Regions from separate parts of the Homo sapiens genome. Here all the other regions are linked to region 1. Evidence: promoter capture Hi-C in 16 types of primary human blood cells and fetal thymus (Javierre and others, 2016). All regions are on one chromosome and are shown on one strand. The core of a region is centred on a gene start or on the middle of the fragment in contact, and the rest is flanking DNA. Distances in the headings are between cores, read along the strand shown. Region 1 holds the start of AFF2 (ALF transcription elongation factor 2). Region 2 overlaps AFF2 (ALF transcription elongation factor 2). Region 3 has its middle 220 kb from the start of AFF2. Region 4 has its middle 170 kb from the start of AFF2. Region 5 overlaps AFF2 (ALF transcription elongation factor 2).

Region 1 (2,906 bases), core at 356-2,855:
ATTTTAAAAGGCAATAACCAAGAATGCAATTTTAAGCGGTTACCACTGCGCCCCCTCCCCATCTAATTCCTTAGACTGCGGGGGGAATCTGATACGTTTAAGTATTATGACAAATAAACTGTGATAATGTTTGTAGTAGGTGAAGTTTTTGAAAAGTTAATAGATATGTATATCAGTATTTATGCACACGCGCACGCACATCTCTAAGAGAGTTAACAACTTTCCAGGTCCCCAGTCACCTTTCTACCATCTTTCAAAATGTCTCAGCGACAAGTTTAGGGTATTTTGTGAAGAGCTGACTCAACCTTTGAATCTGAGCTGGAGGTCCCTTACAAAAAACTACGGCTGCCTCCCAGTGGGAGGCCGAAGGGGGTCCATCCGGTAATTAAATGTGCATTGACATCAGAGCTGCGGATTTGGGGGGCCAACTCCGAAAACCCTCAGTCTTGAAAGCCAAGCGCCGAAGTCGGCCTCGAACCAAGGTCCCCTGAGTGGTGGCCCCCAAAGCCGCTGCTCCACCCGGGAGTGCAGGGAACTTGGGCTGAGTCGGCAGAAGGAAAGGTGTGCGCGCCGCGCAGCGCAGGGATGGAGGTGGCGGCAGCGGGGGCGGTGGCCACCAAGGAAGCAGAGGGCTGCTGGCCGCACCTGGCCGTTGCCTTTCCCCCATGGCCCGCCGCGGGCGTTGGGCACCTGGAAAGTTGAGACATTTCGGGCGGGCGGCATCCGGGGCTCAAGGAGGCCAGACCGGCAAGCCGCTCCGAGAGAAAAGCTCCTGGGAGGTCGTGCGGTTCAGCCCTCGGGCGGCACCGAATTCGATGTGAGCCAAATGCAACTCTTTAGACTTGGAGCGCAAAGCGACGCTTTCGGGTCCGCATCCCTCCCTCTTCCCGCACCTCCCCCCACCCCGGCATCCGACCTAGGAGTCAGCGCGGCCGGGGCCAGAGGTGGCTGAGAGCAAGTGGGAGGGAGTCCGGGGCGCCCCCCACGACAGCTTCAGCTCCTCTTAACAAAGGCGAAAACCTCAGACTTCGCCAGGAGACTCGCTCATCAAAGGAGAAGGCAAAAATCAACACCTACCACTGCTGCTCCAAGTCCCAGTCTCTGAAAAAGTCGAATAGATCCATAGCGGCCAGGCGGCGGCGGCGGGCGGGCGCCTGTCCCTGATCGCAGCGGGTCGGCGCGGCTCTCGGCACAGCTCGCTGGCGGTTCTCGGCGGCCCCCGGCTCTCCAGCCCTCCCGCCCAGCTAAAAGTGTCCGGGCCGCATCGGCAGCAGCAGCGGGCGCTGGAGGTGTCTGGTCCTGTGCTCCGGCGAGGAAGCGGCGGCAGTGGCACTGGGCGGGCAAGCGCCTGGTCGCCCACTCGGGTCCGCTCGGTCCGCGGTAGCCCGCGCACCCAGCGACCCGACGCTGCGGCGGCAGCCGCTGCGGGCTCAGGCGGGCTGGGCCGCCCGCCTGGCTGGCTGCGGGCCGGCGGCGGCAGCGGCGGCGGGGGCGGCCGGGGCAGAGGCAGCGGCGCGGCGCGGCAGCCGGGGCGGCAGCGGCGGCGGCGGCGGCGGCGGCGGCGGCGGCGGCGGCGGCGGCGGCAGCGGCTGCACAGGCGGCGGCGGCGGCCGCGGCAGCATCACACACTTACACACTCACAGGGGGCGGAGCCTGGACAGCTAGAAGCCGCGACATGGAGCAGGCACGTTATCATCCCCGGATCTGGCAGGGGCTCGCCGCGCCCGCCCCTGCCTTTCGGGAACCCTCTCCCACCCCCCACTGTCAAAATCAGCTAGTGGGAGCGGCCACAGAGCTGAGGACCCGGACCCGGACCCGGGACGCAGGGGCCGTGGCAGGGATACAGGAGGTGGGCTGGCGGGACCAGGACGCGGGCTTCGGGAATGGGACCCCTCTCTGAAGCCCAGCCCACCCCCACCACTGGGAATTAGTTTTGAACTAGAAAAGACAGCACAAACAGCCGTGGGGTTGAAGGTCGCCCCCTGCCACCTCAAGCACAGCTCCTTGAGCCCCCGAGTAGTGGAGCAAACTTTGCGGGCCTGAGCATCCCTCAGGTCTGTAGTGCGTAGCACGCGGGTCCAGGAAGGAGAAGGCGGTCACCTTCACCAGCCCCGTGGCTCCACGTGCCCGCACCCAGGCCCTCCAGGCATGCCTTTAGGCGCGCACCTAGTAGGTCAGCGAGCTATAGGCCCTGGATTCAGTGGGCAGCAAGGATAGGAACAAATGACTGCCCTTGCGTGGTCCTTGAGTTCGGGGTTAGGATACTGTTAAACTGGGTTCCACTGTCACTTTCCTCGCACGGTCACCAGGTGCCTTGAGCAAAAGACTTCTGCTAGCTCCTCCTCTGAGAAATGGGAAAACCACTGGGTGTGTGCCCAGTATCCCACGCACCGGCTGCCCGTCTCCCTTCTGGCCTGAAATTCTCTTTCTGCACGTGGAGGGTTTAACCGAGCCTCCTACTCCCTTCAACCTCCACCTCTGATCCAGGAAGGAGTGGATCCCTTTAGCCAATTCCCTGGAGGGAAAGGTTCCCTGGCCTCCGTGCAGAGAAAGGTCTGTGGGAAGGGGCGGGACCGCTTTCTGGCATTTCAGGACATGAGCATTCTGGAGTCCTAGGCATGTAATTTGCCTTCTTCGTGTCGTTATACAGAGGGAATAGTATTGGCACATTTTTCAAATCCTAAGGCTAGAACTCTCTTGGGAAGGACAGCAGACTGAGCCCTGACAGAGCAGGGTGCCGGTAGCTCTGTGTGTGACTCCAAGCAAGTCACTTATCTGGGCCTCAGTTTCTCCATAAAACACCCAGCAGCCCTCTGGCTCATACTTCTCTGACATTCTCCCTTCTATTTGAATATGCTTCTACAGTATTATCTCATATTACCAAAATCATCCAAATACCTTTTAAC
Region 2 (2,700 bases), core at 125-2,624, 250 kb before region 1:
CCCCAACAATACTCCAAGCCTCTTGTAAATCATATTCATATTCATACACTTAAGCATTAATTTACATACTTAATTTCTGACAGGCTGACAAACACAGCCCTTCTACCCTCTCAGTGTAAAGTGAGAAGTCAATTGTTATTCAGTGTATCCGTTACAGTGGTAGTGCCGCTAACTGTATTTTATATAATGTGCTATCTGCAGAAAGGCAGATAAGAATTTGATTTAACATCCAATTAAAAGCCGTCATTGAAAAATTACTTCAAATAAGCCTTTTATTTTCTTTAATCAGTCTTCAATTCAAACCTTCCTTGGACCTACTGAACCAAGCATCAGGACTCATGAATTTTGATTAAAAAATTTGAGCCCATTTCTAACTTAAGCAGATTTTTTTTTGTTGCACTGTTTGATAGAAATTTAATAAATCTATGATTCCTAGCCAGCATCATTTATCATCTTTTTTTCCGCAAGACTGGCCTATTATACCTAGGCAGTAAATTATGAGGGAACCAGCAAACCAAAACTTTTCAGCCCGTTACTGAAGAAGAGATATAATCACTTGCATTGAACCATATAATTATAGTAGAATATGAAGCTCTGAAACATTAGGTCCTGTTTTGAATATGTAATGCCCAGCTTTTGAGAGTCTAAAAGATTTCGAGTTGATCTAATGTAGCTCAGTTTAGTATGATATTAAAATATTTGTTGTTAATGAAAATAACAGCAGGAAAAAAAATAAAGAGATGTGTAAACAACAAAACAGTCCCAGGCAGATTATTTGGAAAGTGACTCTGGGCTTTGAAAGACGAATCAAAAACCAAAAACTTTCAACTTGGTGCTTTTAAGTTAAATGTCTTATAATAAAGATTCAAATTGTGTTACTTCCATTTACTCTTTTAGCTACAATATTTTTTTTTGCGTGAGTGCTCAAGGTTGTACCTGTATCCTTCATAGAGTTTTAATGGGCATAATATATATTCTTTTGTTCATTCAAAAATTATTTGTCAAGCTCCTTCTAGGGGCCAGGCACCATGTTGAACTTTGAGATACAATGGTGAGCAATATAGGCAAGTCAGCCTAGCGCAAAAGATGATGTTTGAGCAGTGCTCTGAGAGGGGACATGAAGTCAGGATCAAGGGAAGCTTCCTTACAAAAGTGCTATTTAAGCTAGGTCTTGAAGGGTGAATAGGAGTTCATGAGGAGTCTTGGTTACTGCCAACAATAACCTTTATTGATATAAATGTCTCTGGGTGTGTGAGTCAGGAGAGCTTCATGTAGAAATCATGGGGTCATTGAAAATTATTTGTATTTTTCTTAAAGAAATAATCAAATATCTAATGCTTCTCTGTATCTAGGAACCCCGTCCCCAGTCCATCTACCTCTCTGCCACTATGTCAATGACTACACATGCTGAATTTCTTTCCAAAGTGGGCCAGATCATTTTGCATTTCCATGCTTTGGTACAATCTGTTTCTACCTCATTGGTATGTCAATCCCAACTAGTCTCTACCAGTGAATTGGCCCTCAGTCTGCCAGAAAGGAATTGACTAGAGAAAACTTGCCTGATGGCAGTAAGCCCCTCCTTGCATCATCCCTCTATTAGAAAGCTTGGTATCATCACTGCTTATTTACTTATCTGTCTCCTGCCCAGGATAGGAAGTTGCAGGAAACGTAGAATGAGTGAATGAATGAATGAATGGGAGAATTGACAAAATGTTCTTAGCTTCTTACTATGCTGACTTGTATGGTTGTGGTAATTCCTTTCTGGAAGAGAAAACAGTAGCCTAAATCCTTTAGGCAGGGGTTTAATGTGCTCCAACAGATAAATGGCTTTGATCCCTTTAGAAAAACCAACATTCTGATTGATACAATAGAAGTAAGAGGAGGGATTCTGCCTGGCTTTGCAACCTGTGTTTTCTTATTTGTAGCTTTCCAAAACACTCTAGTTACAAAGGAAGGCAAATTATGCTATGAAATATTCATTTTTAAAAGGCTTGAGAGAGAAAAGGTTAGGCTGTAGCTAGGAGAAAACTAAATAGCATCTTACAAACAGGGTCTGATATCCAAAGGAGCAAAATGGAATTTTCAGTGAAAAGCCTGTCAGGGTTTCAAGATTAATTAAGAATATATGTAAGTAGAAGACTATTGCTATTTGTCTGCCTATAGCACTATCACACATTACTAATAAAGTAGCTGTTTCAACTGATATTTCTTCTTTTTGCTTTGGCTACTATTTTTTAATTTATAAGCTACACTGTGCTTGCTTATGCAGGCGTTTTTCCCTTTCAATAATGCACTACGGGCTGGGCGCGGTGGCTCACAACTGTAATCCCAGCACTTAGGAAGGCTGAGGCGGGTGGATCACTTGAGGTCAGGAGTTCAAGACCAGCCTGGCCAACATGGCAAAACCCTGTCTCTACTAAAAATACATAAATTAGCCGGGCGTGGTGGCAGGCACCTGTAGTCCCAGCTACTCGGGAGGCTGAGGTGGGAGAATTGCTTGAACGCAGGAGGCAGAGGTTGCAGTGAACCGAGATCGCACCACTACACCCCAGCGTTGGCGACAGAGTCAGACTCTGTCTAAAAATAATAACAATAATAATAATAATAAAAATGCAGTATGATTGTCAGCTGATGCCTACTTGTTCTTTAGTGGACATGTAATTGTAATAGGCACTGCAGGCTTCAGTATTTAAAGAGACA
Region 3 (2,700 bases), core at 60-2,559, 220 kb after region 1:
TACCCACTAGAAAATAAGCTTCATGAGGCAGGGATTTTAGCCTACAAAACAATGAACAATGTTTTATTCATTTCTATAAATCTAGTTACTAAAATACTACCTGACATATAGTAGATACACCATAAACATTTGCGGAATAAGCGAACAAATGAAAAGATTCCTGATATAAAAGAAAACCAATTAAATCAGTCATCTCTAAAGGAGTGGGATCAGATTGATGTTACTCTCCTTATTAAAACTGTAAAGGACAATGTCTTTAAAGTTCTAATGGGAAATAAATTAAAACCTGTAATTTTATTCTAGAAAAAACAATCAACTGAGAGGGCAAAGTAAAGCCATTTTCTGCATTAAAAGACTTGGAAATTTTCATTTTCATTTTTTTTTGGGAAAAACATTCAAGGACGTACTTTTAAAGTGGGAAATAAAAATGTATCCCAGAATGATAGAAGGTAATTGATTCAATCTGGACATGAAGTTAGAGGAATGCTTGAAAAATACCTTTAAGAAGAAAATAAATCTATCCCACAAACTGTATGTGTAAGAACTTTGAGGTTCTTAGTGATGAAATAGTAGCAAGTGCCTCTTCTGTCAGAGACAGGAAAGAAGAAAGGAAGGAAGGAGGGGAGGGGGAGACGGAGGGAAGAAAAGGCAATTAGAAACTCTAGCAAAAAAAAAAAAGCTGCACAAAAGAGCTATGTTTCAAATGATGAAGCAAACTAAATGTGGCATCTTTCTTTAGAAAGTGTATTGCTTAATAAATATTTTTTGAGTGGATACTACATGCTGGACATTGGTCCTAGGTGCTCAGGGGATACATGACTGAACAAAAACAGAAAAAATACTCTGTCATAATGGAGCAAACATTCAGATAGTGGAAGATAAATAATGAACAAATAAAGAAATAAACAAGAAAATTTCAACTTCTAAGTATTATGAAGAAAAAAAAACTGGGTAGGTGGTAGAGCAGGTTATGAGTGACCATTGATGGGGCAGTATCTTCTATTTAAGATTGGGTGATTAGGCAAGGAGGTGATATTTGCACTGAGACCTGAATGACAGCAAAGAGCCAGCCATGGAAAGATCTGAAAACAGAGTATTGCAGGCAGAGGAAACAGCACATTTTAAGGCCTTAATGTAGGAAGAATCATGGTATGGGGCAGAAACAGCAAGGCCACTGTAGCTGAAAGACCACAGATGAGGGACATGAGTGATGGAACACATGATCAGAGAGGTTTGTTTGCGGCTGAATTATGCAGAGCCTTGCAGGCTATGCAAAAGATTTTCTTCTTTCATTCTAAATACAACAGAACCATTGGAGGGTTTTAAGGAGGGGAGGGAAATGATCGGATTCTGCTTTAAAATCATTCTGCTTACCCTCTGGAGAATAGACTGTAGGTATGAGATCAAGAATATAAACAGGGAGACCAGTTAGGTAACTATTTGCTAGACTATGATTCAAGAGACGATAATGGCTTGAATGAGGTTGGTAATATTAGAGGGGTTGAGAATTGATCAATTTAGGATATGTTTTGGAGGAAGAGACAATAGGAGATGTTATTGAAAGTAGAGCAGGGAGTGAAAGACAGGTAGGAATCTGAGATGACTCCCAGGTTTGGGGTTTCAGCAACTGATGGGTAGTGGTGTCTTTTACTAGAAACAGGCAGAGAGATGGTTTTTCAAGCTAGGAAATAATAAGATCTACTACCTGATAGCACAACAGGGTGACTATTGTCAATGCTAATTTAATTGTACATTTTAAAATAAAAGTATAGATTGTAACACAAAGGATAAATACTTGAGGAGATGGATACCCCATTTCACATACACACACATTTACATATATGCTAATTTTAAGTTCAGGGGTACATGCACAGGTTTGTTACATAGGTAAATGTGTGTCATGGGGGTTTGTCGCACAGATTATTTCATCATCGAGGTATTAGGCCTAGTACATATTAGTTTTTCTGATCCACTCCCTCCTCCCACACTCCAACTTCCAATAGGCCCCAGTGTATGTTCTTCCTTTCTCTGTGTCCATGTGTTCTCGTCATTTAGCTCCCGCTTATAAGTGAGAATATGCAATATTTGGTTTTCTGTTCCTGTGTTAGTTTACTAAGCATAATGGCCTCCAGCTTCATCCATGTCCCTGCAAAGGACATGATCCTGTTGTTTTTTATGGCTGCATAGTATGCCACGGCATATGGGTACCACATTTTCTTTATCCAGTCTATCATTGATGGGCATTTAGGTTGACTCCACGTGTTTGCTATTGTGAATAGTGCTGCAGTGAACATACCTGTGTGTGTGTCTTTATAATAGATTTATTTATATTCCTTTGGGTATATACTCAATAATAGGATTGCTGAGTCAAATGGTAGTTCTGCTTTTAGTTCTTTGAGCAATCGCCATACTGCTTTCCACAATGGTAGAACTAATTTACACTCCCCAAAACTGTGTGTAAGTGTTCCCTTTTCTCCACAACCTCACCAGCAGCTGTTATTTTTTGACTTTTTAACACTAGCCATTCTGACTGGTGTGAAACGATATCACATTGTGGTTTGGATTTGCATTTCTCTAATGATAAGTGATGCTAAGCTTTTTTTTTTTATATGACTTAGCCACGTGTATGTCTTCTTTAGAAGTGTTCATGTCCTTTGCCCACTTTTTAATGAGGCTGTTGGTTTTTCTCTTGCAAATTTA
Region 4 (2,800 bases), core at 218-2,717, 170 kb after region 1:
TTGCATTAAATTATTGAAGTTTTCTGAGCCTCAGTTTCAAGATCTGTAAAATAGGGTTAACAATGCACTCTTTGCAAGATTGTTTTGAGGATGCAAATGAAACAATGGGTTATAAAATGACTTTGTAAATTTGAAGTGCTATAAAATTGTAGTTACTGTTTCCTGTTTATGTACATAAATAATTTTTGAAATAACAAATGACAAATATGGAGATAAAACACTAATGATTTTGAACACTGCTCTATAGAAGTATTAGACTAATATGAATCCTTTCTTCATTATGGGTAACAACCTTTAACGATAAAAACACAACATATCTTAGATTTTGTAGAGATTGGTAATGTCCACTGACACTCTGTTTGAAGTCAATATGGTTTTGACAAAGTGAAAAATCCACAGGCTCAGAGGCGGGACCTTCATGTCTAATCTGGATTCCAGCAGTGCTGTGCTATTCTATCACTTGAACAATGGTGGTAATGTGCCACTCTGACTTTCCTCATCTGGCAACGGATCTAATACCACCCGCTCAATTTATCCAGCAGGATTAAATTCAGTTTAATAATCAGAGGGAAAAGAAAAAAGTCTGAAGAATGGCAGCAGGGTGGAGGACAGAGGTATAAAATAATGGGGAGCAAGGAGGAGGTAAAAAGGAGGCAGTTAACGTCAGTGGCATCTCTCCTTAGCCCTCCATGAGAGATACAGGCAGAAGAGAAGCTGACAAAGAAGAAAAGATAAGAAATTTTTTCCACATTGAGGAGGAGGAGAGCAGGGAGAGTCCTCCAAGGGAAGATTTGGCATGTGGATCTGCTTCAAAAGCTGCACAGAGATTATGTGCAGGGGATCCTGATTACTAATCCAATTGGCAATGTACCCTAGGGACAAATTTGTCGTGATTAAATTCCCGTAAAGTTTGATATAAGCTTCAAATCAGCAGAAAAATAATGAGTTTACTTTGTAGGGTACACTAGGAGAAGAGTCAGTAAGAATAGTTTGGGAAGGATTCTGTGTAGTAGGTTAAGGTAGCATCTTTGCTTTCTTGAGGAATCAAATTATAGACATAGGAGAAGTTACAACCTGAAGAAGAAAAGACTGTGACTTATGAAGAAAGTAAGGTTTGGCTTTGAGGTCCGGACCATCAAATCTAATATCGAAAAGAGAGTTTGATTCAGTTCAGGTGAAGAACATTTTTACTTTGAGCATTCACTATGTGCCAGGCCTTGGGCTGCATATCATGCAAAATTTTAGCCATTTGACAAACATTCACTGCATATCCACTAGATATCAGGGCATACAGTTTAGAATGTACTAAACGTTGTACACTGCAAACTCATTGAATCCTTCAGTGCCCCTATGGATTAGGTACTCTTATTACCCATATTTTACACAGCTGAGAAATGTATAAGTTCCAAGACCTATGTCCCTGTCTGAATGACTGACTCCCGGCACTGCGTGCATCCTCTTCACTAGGCTCTCTATCCCACTGCCGTTCTTCACATGACAAAGGGAAGACCACAGACATGTCACAAATGTGGGCAAGGGTGAGATGGGGAACATAAGGAAGAGGCTGAATTTTACCTTGCGGTGGACAAGAAACAAAGAATAAAAACAGAGACAGAAGCTATGGAGGAAAAAGAGGGGCCAGGGAAAGGAATATGGGGTGGGGAAAGGAAGGTTAAGCCTTTCCTCATTCAGTAGCAATGGCTCATCAGATTCTACAGAGGAGGTCAGCAGGGTGGAGGTGGAGCAGGTAGGGGATGGGCACCTCCCAGAATCCATTGGAAAATAAACCAAGATTAAAAGGGCTGAGTAGAGCCAAGAGAGATGGACCCAACTCAAAAAAGAAGAAATAAAGAGGAGTGCTGAGGTAAGAGTAGCCGCTATGGGAGGCAGTGTAGGAGGGGGAAAAATGCAGGAGGGCAAAGGAAACCTGGAAGGATGAATTAAAATCACACTAGTGGCAGAAAGCACATCTCAGAACAGGTAATACAATCATATCAGAACACAGGAAGCTTGAGACACAGCCTGTGGGGCTCTGAGAGCAAAGAAACAGGATGTAATTTTAGTATAAGAAACAAAGCTGAATACAAAGAAGGGCATGTATTATGCAGGAAAGGGCATGGCCTTCAGGCTCTTTGCATTGTTCAACAGGAGGAAGAAGTCACACAGGAGAGGAAGTTTGCTTGTCTCACATCATGTAGGATATTTGAGTCCTGAGCTAGAACATGTAGGTAGAGAGAGGGGTGGAAAAATGAGCCCTCTGTCCTCAGATGTGTATAGAATGCATAAAATGAAATGTTTCTTGGCTGGGGGCAATTTTACTCTTGAAGGGAGAGGTTTTTGTGACTTCCAGAATGGAGGGTAGAGTGACTACTGGCATCTAATGGGTAGAAGGCTTAGATGCTGCTAAACATCTTGCAATGCCCAGGACAATCCTGCATAACAAAGGATTATCTTACCCAGAGTGTCAATGATTGGTCAAGAAACTCTGATAAGTGTTCTTATCTCTATCTGAAGTCCCTATTCCAATAAATAATGGTGATGAGGAGTATCTTAAAATCTTCTAATTAGTGGGTATGCAGTCTCCTTCCATCAAAAATAGTCTCTTCTAGGTTAACTTAGTCCCTTTAGGTAAATGCTGAGTGTTCCAGAGTTTCACCACCCATCCCTACATCCTTTGTTCCCAAGATAGCAACAGAGGTTGGCAAGGAGATCCTTGTGAGAATGCTCATGGCCTCTATAGTAATGTCCTCAGATACTCCACCTTCCTGGCAACCAACAATGAGGTACAGGGCTAATGAAA
Region 5 (2,700 bases), core at 84-2,583, 190 kb before region 1:
CAGTTACTGAGTTATCCTTGACTTGGCATAAAATGATTACACATTCTGACAACTTGAGGCATGCTCTTTCCTGATTATTTGATCACAACAGTCCCTCACTACAAACTGCAGTGAAGGCAAGTAGCCTCTTTTCTCTGTAAGATCTATGATTCTAGACACTTTCTTTCCTCTGACCTGAAAAGTCTGGGTCTGCTGACATCAAGGGCCCATCAGTTCAAACAGGCCTTCCATAAGATGGGCTGTCAGGCCAGGCTGAAAATACCTGAGTCTTTTGGTAACATTTTAATTTTATATTTAAACTGCACAGGAGTCTAGGATTTTATATACAGAAAGAATACTTGAGAGATGGCAGACAATGTCAGTCAGTCAAACACACAGAGAGAATCGGCTATAGATGATTCACATGTTTCTGAATAAGCAAATAACTAATAGATTCCATTCATCAAGAAGGTGAAAATGCAACAAAGCCAGCCAAATACTTTCTGAGTATCCAAGTTTGCCTTAACAGTAGTAAGTCAATTCAGAGAAGCTAAGGGTAAAGTTTTTCAAACATGTTTGCATTCTGATAATAGTCACATTCTAAACAGTTATAATATCATTCACTGGGCACTGAAAGTAAAGGAAAAGCCCTCAGATCTGGCAGTATAGCCAATATTACCAAAAGACATCTGTTCAACTCTGATTTCCTGAACACAGCCTATCATCATTGCTCCTTAAGCAATCAAACCAGTTGAATCCATGAACTAGAAAAAGAGAAACTCATTGCCCAGGAGTGGTCCTGGGGACCACACACACTTAAAACCTGGGACCTTCCCAACCACAGACACTCCAGGAGGCCATTGTGAAAATCCCACTCCAAACATTTCTATTCATATCTCGTAAGACAGGCCTTCAGGACAATCAAGCACTAGTCTGAAAATATCTGAAGGGCAAGTGCAATGGGCTGAGTTTTGTCGCCTCCTTCCAAATTTGTATGTTGAAATCCTAACCCCCACTGCCTCAGAATGTCACTGTTTTGGGACATAAGGCCTTAAGAAAGGTGATAAAGGCAAAACAAGGTAATCAGAGTGGGCCCTAACACAATCTAAATGATGTCCTTACAAGAAGAGATTAGGACACAGACTTGCACAGGAAGATCATGTGAAGACACAGAAAGAAGATGGCAACCTACAAGCCAAGGAGAGGGGGCTCAGAAGAAACCAACACTGTCCACACCTTTGTCTCAGTGTTCTAGCTTCCAGAGCTGGGAGAAAATGTGTTTCTTTTGCTTAAACCACACAGGCTGTAGTACATACTTTGTTATAGCCAACCTAACAAACTAATACAACAAGGAACACTATAGCAAGTACAGTCATTTCAGTCAACAACCAACCACATATGTCATGGTGGCCTCATAAGATTATAATAATGTATTTTTACTGTACCTTTTCAATGTTTAGATATGTTTAGATACACAAATACTTACCATTGTGTTACAGTTGCCTATAGTATTTAGTATAGTCGCTTGCCATACAGGTTTGTAGACTAGGAGCAATAGGATGCCATACAACCTAGGTGTGTGGTATGCTATGCCATCTAGGTTTGTGTAAGTGCACTCCATCATATTTCACAAAATGATAAATTGTCTAATGATGCACTTCTCAGAACGCATCCCTGTTGTTAAGTGATTCATGACTATATTTATTAGGCCCCTACTTAAGTGCTACGTTCTGTGCTAGGTACAAGGGATACAATGATAAATTAATTTCACTATACTCCTTGCCCTCAAGGAGTTTCCAGGCTATTGGGAGAGTAACATATGTAAACAGGCAATCAAAATAGAATGTGAGACGAGTTTCAGTGGCGTAAGGACTACAAAAACTGCAGGAACAGAAAAGAGGAATACCTGCTTTGAGAAGTCTTCCCAAAGGATATCAAGAGTAAACTGAGATTAGCTGGTAAAAGTATGATGGCACACTTCATATAGCTGGAAGGCAGTAAGTTAGAAGAAGCTGGCAAGGGCAGCAAGGGCCAGGTCACAAGGGGATCTCCAGAGGTTTGACTTCTTTCTTTAGGCAATGGGTGGCACTAAGAGATCAGTCTGGCTGCAACGTGGAAAAGGCAGGGGTTCAGCAGTGTGGGGCCAGAGGTAAGAAAACCAGCAGCAGAAATCAGCTGAGTCATGATGCTTACCTGTTGTAAGGTGATGGCCAAAGTGTTGGAACTACAGTTTCAAAGTAAATGAGGAAGGTAGGATTCGGTGATTGATAGGCTATAGAACATGAGGGAGGGGGAGAGATTGTAGGTGATTCCAGGCTTCTGGCATAGATAGTAGCGCCATCAGCTGTTCAGTGTTAATTATTATGAATATGAGGTCCCAATGGGAACATCCAAATAGAGATGTGTACAAGGCAGCTGCATATACATATCTGATGTCTAGTGCATAGTAGCTATCAAATACAGAAAGAAGGGAAAGAGATGGGGATAAGCGGAGAAAGAGGAAAAAGGAATGACTTACCATACATACGTCTAAATTATTTGCCAGCTGGTTTTCTTTAGCAATATTTAAATGTTTAAACATCAATGTGTATTAAACAAAGCGACACACCTCCTGACATCCTTGGTTGTACTACACATACCAAAAAAAAATCCACATTGCATAAAAAGAGACTAGGAAGCTAAAGACACAAGCTTCTGGTTTCACAGAAGGATCAAGCAGAA

The links. Contacts are between HindIII fragments. The CHiCAGO score rates a contact against its expected background, and 5 or more counts as called.
Region 2: a contact is called between a fragment that was not itself captured here and the fragment with the promoter of AFF2 in region 1, in 1 of 17 cell types (neutrophils). The highest score is 6.3, in neutrophils.
Region 3: a contact is called between a fragment that was not itself captured here and the fragment with the promoter of AFF2 in region 1, in 1 of 17 cell types (activated CD4 T cells). The highest score is 6.4, in activated CD4 T cells.
Region 4: a contact is called between a fragment that was not itself captured here and the fragment with the promoter of AFF2 in region 1, in 3 of 17 cell types (non-activated CD4 T cells, fetal thymus and naive CD4 T cells). The highest score is 7.1, in non-activated CD4 T cells.
Region 5: a fragment that was not itself captured here is called in contact with the fragment with the promoter of AFF2 in region 1 in 1 of 17 cell types (neutrophils); the score reaches 5.5 in neutrophils.

Annotation. Positions count from the first base shown.
Region 1 is chrX:148,499,316-148,502,221 of GRCh38, reverse strand. AFF2 (ALF transcription elongation factor 2) reads right to left here and starts at 1,605. Exons shown (of 21, transcript NM_002025.4): 1 at 1,078-1,605. The coding sequence starts at 1,124. RefSeq lists an enhancer at 68-945. The HindIII fragment of the contact is 5,176 bases long and covers 1-2,906 here.
Region 2 is chrX:148,745,641-148,748,340 of GRCh38, reverse strand. The region is part of intron 3 of AFF2 (ALF transcription elongation factor 2); the gene reads right to left. Among named protein-coding and RNA genes, the nearest start is that of AFF2, 250 kb to the right of the region's middle. The HindIII fragment of the contact is 465 bases long and covers 1,142-1,606 here.
Region 3 is chrX:148,279,006-148,281,705 of GRCh38, reverse strand. No RefSeq gene overlaps it. Among named protein-coding and RNA genes, the nearest start is that of AFF2, 220 kb to the left of the region's middle. The HindIII fragment of the contact is 2,577 bases long and covers 21-2,597 here.
Region 4 is chrX:148,333,453-148,336,252 of GRCh38, reverse strand. No RefSeq gene overlaps it. Among named protein-coding and RNA genes, the nearest start is that of AFF2, 170 kb to the left of the region's middle. The HindIII fragment of the contact is 1,089 bases long and covers 923-2,011 here.
Region 5 is chrX:148,687,609-148,690,308 of GRCh38, reverse strand. All of the region lies in intron 3 of AFF2 (ALF transcription elongation factor 2), which reads right to left. Among named protein-coding and RNA genes, the nearest start is that of AFF2, 190 kb to the right of the region's middle. The HindIII fragment of the contact is 2,679 bases long and covers 1-2,672 here.